Linked DNA regions of Homo sapiens: region 2 is linked to region 1. The links are contacts of gene promoters, found by promoter capture Hi-C in human tissues and cell types (Jung and others, 2019). All regions are on one chromosome and are shown on one strand. Each heading gives the region's core, a stretch centred on a gene start or on the middle of the fragment in contact. The rest is flanking DNA. Distances are from core to core; before and after follow the strand shown.

What was found. The method cuts DNA at HindIII sites, captures the fragments that hold promoters and counts their contacts. A contact is called where the count stands out against the background at its distance.
Region 2: the fragment with the promoter of TSKS here is called in contact with a fragment that was not itself captured in region 1 in 1 of the 25 tissues and cell types used here (pancreas).

The regions. Positions count from the first base shown.
Region 1 is chr19:49,902,183-49,905,014 of GRCh38, reverse strand. It overlaps a transcript of IL4I1 not described here. Among named protein-coding and RNA genes, the nearest start is that of IL4I1, 6.7 kb to the right of the region's middle. The HindIII fragment of the contact is 8,874 bases long and covers 1-2,832 here.
Region 2 is chr19:49,762,056-49,766,000 of GRCh38, reverse strand. It overlaps TSKS (testis specific serine kinase substrate), which reads left to right and starts at 2,695. Exons shown (of 11, transcript NM_021733.2): 1 at 2,695-2,923; 2 at 3,769-3,945. The coding sequence starts at 2,754. It also overlaps the pseudogene RNU6-841P. RefSeq lists enhancers at 1-335, 3,942-3,945. The HindIII fragment of the contact is 39,317 bases long and covers 1-3,945 here.

The DNA of each region.
Region 1 (2,832 bases), core at 1-2,500:
TTAGGGGCTGGGCACGGTGGCTCATGCCTGTAATCCCAGCCCTTTGGGAGGCCAAGGTGGGCGGATCACGAGGTTAGGAGATCGAGACCATCCTGGCTAACACGGTGAAACCCTGTCTCTACTAAAAATATAAAAAAATTAGCCGGGTGTGGTGGCAGGCGCCTATAGTCCCAGCTACTCGGGAGACTGAGGCAGGAGAATGGCATGAACCCGGGAGGCGGAGCTTACAGTGAGCAGAGATCAAGCCACTGCACTCCAGCCTGGGCAAAAGAGTGACTCCGTCTCAAATAAGTAAATAAATAATACAAAAATTAGCCCGGCGTGGTGGTGGGTGCCTGTAACTCCCAGGTACTCAGGAGAATCACTTGAACCTGGGAGGCGGAGGTTGCAGTGAGCCAAGATCGCGCCACTGCACTCCAGCCTGGGCAACAAAGTTAGACTTCATCTCAAAAAAAAAATTTTAAGTTCTGCATTTTCTTCCCATACCCCAAAGGATCTTGAGCACCCCACTCTGAATAACACAAGTGATTCCATTAAATCAGGAGGCTCTGTGCCCCAAAGCCATGTGAGAAATGGTCCCAACAGGCCTCCTGGGGGAGTCTAGGAGGGATCCCGAGATCGCAGCAGCATCAGCAACCGACTGGGTGCCACCGCGGGTGATGGCTCCATCGTAATTTCAGTTTCCCTTTCCAGGAAGAAAATACACAGATGTGCTTCCTTCCCAGTCCTGACAAATGGCCTTTCCTTAAGTTCCTCATTAATTCATATGAAGACAACACATTTGGTGACTAAATTTGGAATCAGAGGCTTTTAAAGGTGAATCTCAGCTCTTACTGCTTTGCTTTCCCCTGTTTAGGGATAAGAGTGGCAAATGGGGGCTGGGTGTGGTGGCTCATGCCTGTAATCCCGACATTTTGGGGAGGCCAAGGGGAGTAGATTACTTGGGGTCTGGAGTTTGAGACCAGCCTGGGCAACATGGCGAAACCTCGTCTCTACAAAAATACAAAAATTAGCCTGGCGTAGTGGCTCCTGCCTGTAGTTTCAGATACTTGGAGGCTGAGGTGGGAGGATCACATGAACCTGGGAGGCAGACATTGCAGTGAGCCGAGATCGTACCACTGCACTCCAGCCTGGGTAACAAAAGTGAGACCCTGTCTCAAAAAAAAAAAAAAAAAAAAAAAAAACCCAGCACATATAACAGTATAATATGTAGTCAAACCATGAGGGAATGATGACTTTTTATTCTTTTTTAGTAAAAACTAATCATCAATACAATTTATTTTTTAGTAATGAGTGGCTTGCAAAGCAAAAACTCCTGAAAATGTAAATCAGCTCTTATGACCTGGTATGACTCAGCTTCAGCACACCACTGCTCCCAAGTTTTCAGTAAACCCCAAAAATGTCAGGGTGCTTTAAAAATCTGCCCCTCAGACTCAGGGCAGCGGCTCTCCACAGAACCTCCCAGGGAGCAAAGCCCTCACGCTCGGAAGCGAGGTCTGCTTCTTGCACAGCAGCCAGCCCCCCAGCCAGGTTTCAGTGACCCCGGCTGTTCCCCTGCCTGTCCCACAGGACCACACCCTTGGCTTCTGCACACCAGGGCCCTGGTGACTTCAAACACAGTGACCCACATGGGCGCCCTTGTCCCGTCTCCCCTCCAGACACCATCAGGTTGAACCCTCTCAGACGCCAAAGGTTTCCCGAGGCAAGAAGCAGACCGGGTGCGCTGCCGTGATGGGGACTAGCCTGGTGCCCTGGGGTCACCTCAGATACCCTAGTTCCCTTGAATCCACAGAACTGATAGTGACACTTACTGACCAAGACAATGTCACTCAAATGCAATATGGACTGTGATTTGCATCTTGACAAACCAACCGTTTTTTGTTTTGTTGTTGTTTTTTTTTTCAGAGAGTCCTGCTCTGTTGCTCAGGCTGGCGTGCAGTGGTGTGATCTCGGCTCACTGCAATCTCTGCCTCCCGGGTTCAAGCGATTCTCCTGCCTCAGCCTCCTGAGTAGCTGGGACTACAGGCGTGCACTACCACACCCAGCTAATTTTCGTATTTTTAGTAGAGACAGGGTTTTACCATGTTGGCCAGGATGGTCTTGATCTCCTGACCTTGTGATCCACCTGTCTCGGCCTCCCAGAGTGCTGGGATTACAGGCATGAGCCACCACACCTGGCCTTTTTTTTTTGAGATGCAGTCCCGCTCTGTCGCCTAGGCTGGAGTGGCATGATCTCAACTCATAGCGACCTCTGCCTCCCAGGTTCAAGTGATTCTCCTGCCTCAGCCTCCTGAGTAGCTGGGATTACAGAGGTGCCCGCCACCACGCCTGGCTAATTTTTGTATTTTTAGTAGAGATGGGGTTTCACCATGTTGCCCAGGCTGGTCTTGAGCTCCTGACCTCAGGTGATCCGCTCACCTCGGCCTCCCAAAGTACTGTGATTGCAGGTGTCAGCCACCATGCCCGGCCTAAACTGTTTTTTTGTTTTGTTTTGTTTTGTTTTTCAGTGATGAGCTATTCCAGGAAACGTGAACATTGATTTAATGATATTAAGAAATGGCTGCCATCCGGAGCTTGCAGTGAGCCGAGATCGTGCCACTGCACTCCAGCCTGGGCAACTGAGCGAGACTCCATCTCAAAAAAAAAAAAAAAAAAGAAATGGCTGCCATCTTAAAATATGATAATGATATTGTAGTTTTTAAAAAGCAAAACATGGTCAGGTGCAGTGGCTCAGCCTTGTAATCCCAGCACTTTGGGAGGCCAAGATGGGAGGGATCACCCGAAGTCAGGAGTTCGAGACCAGCCCAGCCAACATGGTGAAACCCTGTCTCT
Region 2 (3,945 bases), core at 1,446-3,945, 140 kb after region 1:
TCCTTCTGGGCAAGAATGGGACCTGGCCTTGAACAGTTTCAACAACATTTGTTAAAAGAAGAAATAGGTGAATCTGCTTTGGCCCAGCCCCAGCCTCCATCCCCAACCCCCAGCTCCCCAGAGACTCTTTGGTAAACTGGCTTTGGGGAAGGCAAAACGGCCAGAACTCCCAACGCCCCAGGAGATTGAGAAATTTGGGACAAAGGGAACTGGAAGAGTCCATTTCTGTCACCTGTAGGAACAAAACTCCACCCCATCAGCCTTTTCTAATCTCAGAAGCCAAGAATTCCTGGAATGAGCCTTGGGGGTGTGTTCTGGACCTTTGGAATGGCCATTCTGAATCCTGGGAGATGGAAAGGAGGTTGAGAAGAGCCCACCTTCCAGGCTCAATGGATGCGTCCATTTGGGTTTCCAGGAATGGGGCCTGGGAAAGTCCATTTTGGATTCCAGGAGGACAGAAATTGCTCAGCTGTTTTAGTCACAGGGAGAGTCCATTTCTAATATGGGAGGGGGGTGCTGTTTGCCCCTGAAGAACATAAAGCAGCCCCATTAAACACAAGAAAAATTATTAATCCCAGGACTTGAAGTTCTTTTTTTTTTTTTTTGAGATGGAGTCTCGCTCTGTCGCCCAGGCTGGGGTGCAGTGGCGCGATCTCAGCTCACTGCAACCTCCGCCTCCCGGGTTCACGCCATTCTCCTGCCTCAGCCTCCCAAGTAGCTGGGACTACAGGCGCACGCCACCATGCCTGGCTAATTTTTTGTGTTTTTAGTAGAGACGGGGTTTCACCGTGTTAGCCAGGATGGTCTCGATCTCCTGACCTTGTGATCCGCCCACCTCGGCCTCCCAAAGTGCTGGAATTACAGGCGTGAGCCACTGCGCCCGGCCTTTTTTTTTTTTCTTTTTTTTGAGACAGAGTCTCTCTCTGTCCCCCAGGCTGGAGTTCAGTGACTCAATCTCGGCTCACTGTAACCTCTTCCTCCCGAGTTAAAGCGATTTTCCTGCCTCAGCCTCCTAAGTAGCTGGGATTACAGGCACCCGTCATCATGCTCGCCTAATTTTTGTATTTTTGTAGAGACAGTGTTTCACTATGTTGGCCAGGCTGGTCTTGAACTCCTAACCTCAGGTGATCCGCCCGCCTCGGCCTCCCAAAGTGCTGGGATTACAGGTGTGAGACACCGCGCCCAGCCAGGAGTTCTTTATTATAGAAAGATTAAGTGTTCCAAGAACTGGAGTCCATTCATGACCAGGAAGAAGTACTTTCTCCCTGGGGATAACAGCATTTAAAATGTCTATTAGCAGTGATGTTTGAACTAGTCTTTTTGAGAAGTGTGAAGAGAACAGGAAAAGTCTGTCCCTAAATAGCAGGGCAGTGCTCGCTTCGACAGCACATGTATTAACATTGGAACGATACAGAGAAGATTAGCATGGGCCCTGCGCAAAGACCACATGCAAATTTGTGACATGTTCCATATATTTTTTAAATACTTTGGGCGGGCGGGGCGCAGTGGCTCACACCTGTAATTCCAATGCTTTGGGAGGCTGAAGTGGGCAGATCACGAGGTCAGGAGTTGGAGACTAGCCTAGCCAACACAGTGAAACCCTGTCTCTACTAAAAATACAAAAAAAAAATTAGATGGGTGTGGTGGCAGGTACCTGTAGTCCCAGCTACTCAGGAGGCTGAGGCAGGAGAATCGCTTGAAACTGGGAGGTAGAGGTTGCAATGAGCCAAGATCACGCCACTGCACTCCAGCCTGGGTGTCAGAGCGAGACTCCATCTAAAAAAAAAAAAAAAAAATTATAGCGGAGCATGGTGGCTCATGTCTGTAATCCCACACTTTGGGAGGCTAAGGCGGGTGGACCATTTGAGGTCGGGAGTTTGAGACCAACTTGGCCAACATGGTGAAACCCGTCTCTACTAAAAATACAAAAATTAGCCGGACATTGTGGCCAGCGCCTGTAGTCCCAGCTACTGGGGAGGCTGAGGCAGGAGAATCGGTTGAACCCCGGGAGGTGGAGGTTGCAATGAGCTGAGATCGCGCCACTGAACTCCAGCCTCCATGACAGAGAGAGACTCTGTCTCAAAAAAAATAAAAAGTATTAAAGAAAATAATAAATAAATAAACGGGGGAGGGGGATACCACCCTCTGTCCTGCCCCAACTCTCTACCTTCCTCTCCTCCCTCACCTTCTACCCTGACCCCGAGGCCCACCGCACCTAGCTTTCTTTTGTTGATCTACCTGTATATTGCCTTTCCCCCGACCCCGACGCCCCATAGAATATGAGACCCTCCAGGTCAGGGTCTGGATCTCAGCCCTCTTCGACCACAGTCTCTCAAACCCCAGCCAATTGTCAAATCCAGGAAGCTACATGAAGAATCAAGAACAAGTGCACAGGGCTGTGTGACCCCACGCTTAGTCTCAGGGAGAGGGAAGTTGGACCTCTCCCAAGAATCCGTGGGCCGACCCATTGTTAAGTTACAGGCTAGCATGAATCCATCCACTGGAGCTCTGAAGACGGGGGGCACATTGGGCATGTAACTAGAATCCTGAACAGGAGGAGTCCACTGAGAACCCTAGGGGAATGACCTGGGCCAGCATCTCTCCCTACCCTGTGCCCCCCACTCACTGGGGCCCAGTGGTTGGGTCCTTTGTGAGGCAGGCTGAGGGGACAGTGGATCCTGAGGGTCTGTGGTCACAGTAGGTAGGAAGTCTCAGAGGAAGGAGCCCCTCCCTGGGAGCCAGACCCCCACACCATGGCGAGCGTGGTGGTGAAGACGATCTGGCAGTCCAAAGAGATCCATGAGGCCGGGGACACCCCCACGGGGGTGGAGAGCTGCTCCCAGCTAGTCCCAGAGGCTCCCCGGAGGGTGACCAGCCGGGCCAAGGGGATCCCGAAGAAAAAGAAGGCCGTGTCGTTCCACGGGTGGGTTTGTTGCACACTGTCAGGGATGGTTCTAATGCCCAGCACTACCTCCAACAGAGCAGGAGTCCGACTGTGGGTGCTAGAGGAAGGGGAGGGGGAAAAGCCAGCAGGTCGGGGGCAGGAAAGAGGGCAGCAGTGAAGAGACATCAAGTCACAGGGAGGTAGAGAGGAAGAAGGTAATGGGGATGGATGGAGGGAGGAAGAAGGTAATGGGGATGGATGGAGAGAGGAAAAAGCCAGTGGGGAGGGAAGAAGGAGAAGGGAGGCTAGTGAATGAAGAAGAAAGTAGGTGGCAGAGAAGGGAGGAGAAAGTAGGCAGCGGGGAAGGAGAAGAAGAAAGTAGACAGTGGTGGTCGGGCACGGTGGCTCACGCCTGTAATCCCAGCACTTTGGGAGGCCGAGGCAGGTGGATCATGAGGTCAGGAGTTCAAAACCAGCTTGGCCAACATGGTGAAAAGCCATCTCTACTAAAAATACTAAAATTAGCTGGGCGTGATGGCACATGCCTATAACCCCAGCTACTCAGGAGGCTGAGGCAGGAGAATTGCTTGAACTGGGACCCGCAGTCGGAGGTTGCAGTGAGCTGAGATCGCGCCACTGCACTCCAGCCTGGGCAACAGAGTGAGACTCTGTCTCAAAAAAAAAAAAAAAAGAAAGAAAGAAAAAAGAAAGAAAGTAGGCAGCACAGGGAAGGAGAATAAAGTAGGCAGCGGGGACAGAGAAGGGAGAAACTTATATACAGTGAGGGTGGAGTCACAGGGGGTGAGGTATGGAGAAAGGAAGGCAGGAGGGCCCAGACACCCTGGGGCTGCTTCTCCACTTTTCTGCCTGTTTCTTCTCTGCAGGGTGGAGCCCCAGATGTCCCATCAGCCCATGCACTGGTGCCTGAACCTCAAACGGTCCTCGGCCTGCACCAACGTGTCACTGCTCAACCTGGCCGCCATGGAGCCCACTGACTCCACGGGGACAGACTCCACAGTGGAAGACCTCAGCGGCCAACTCACACTGGCTGGGCCCCCTGC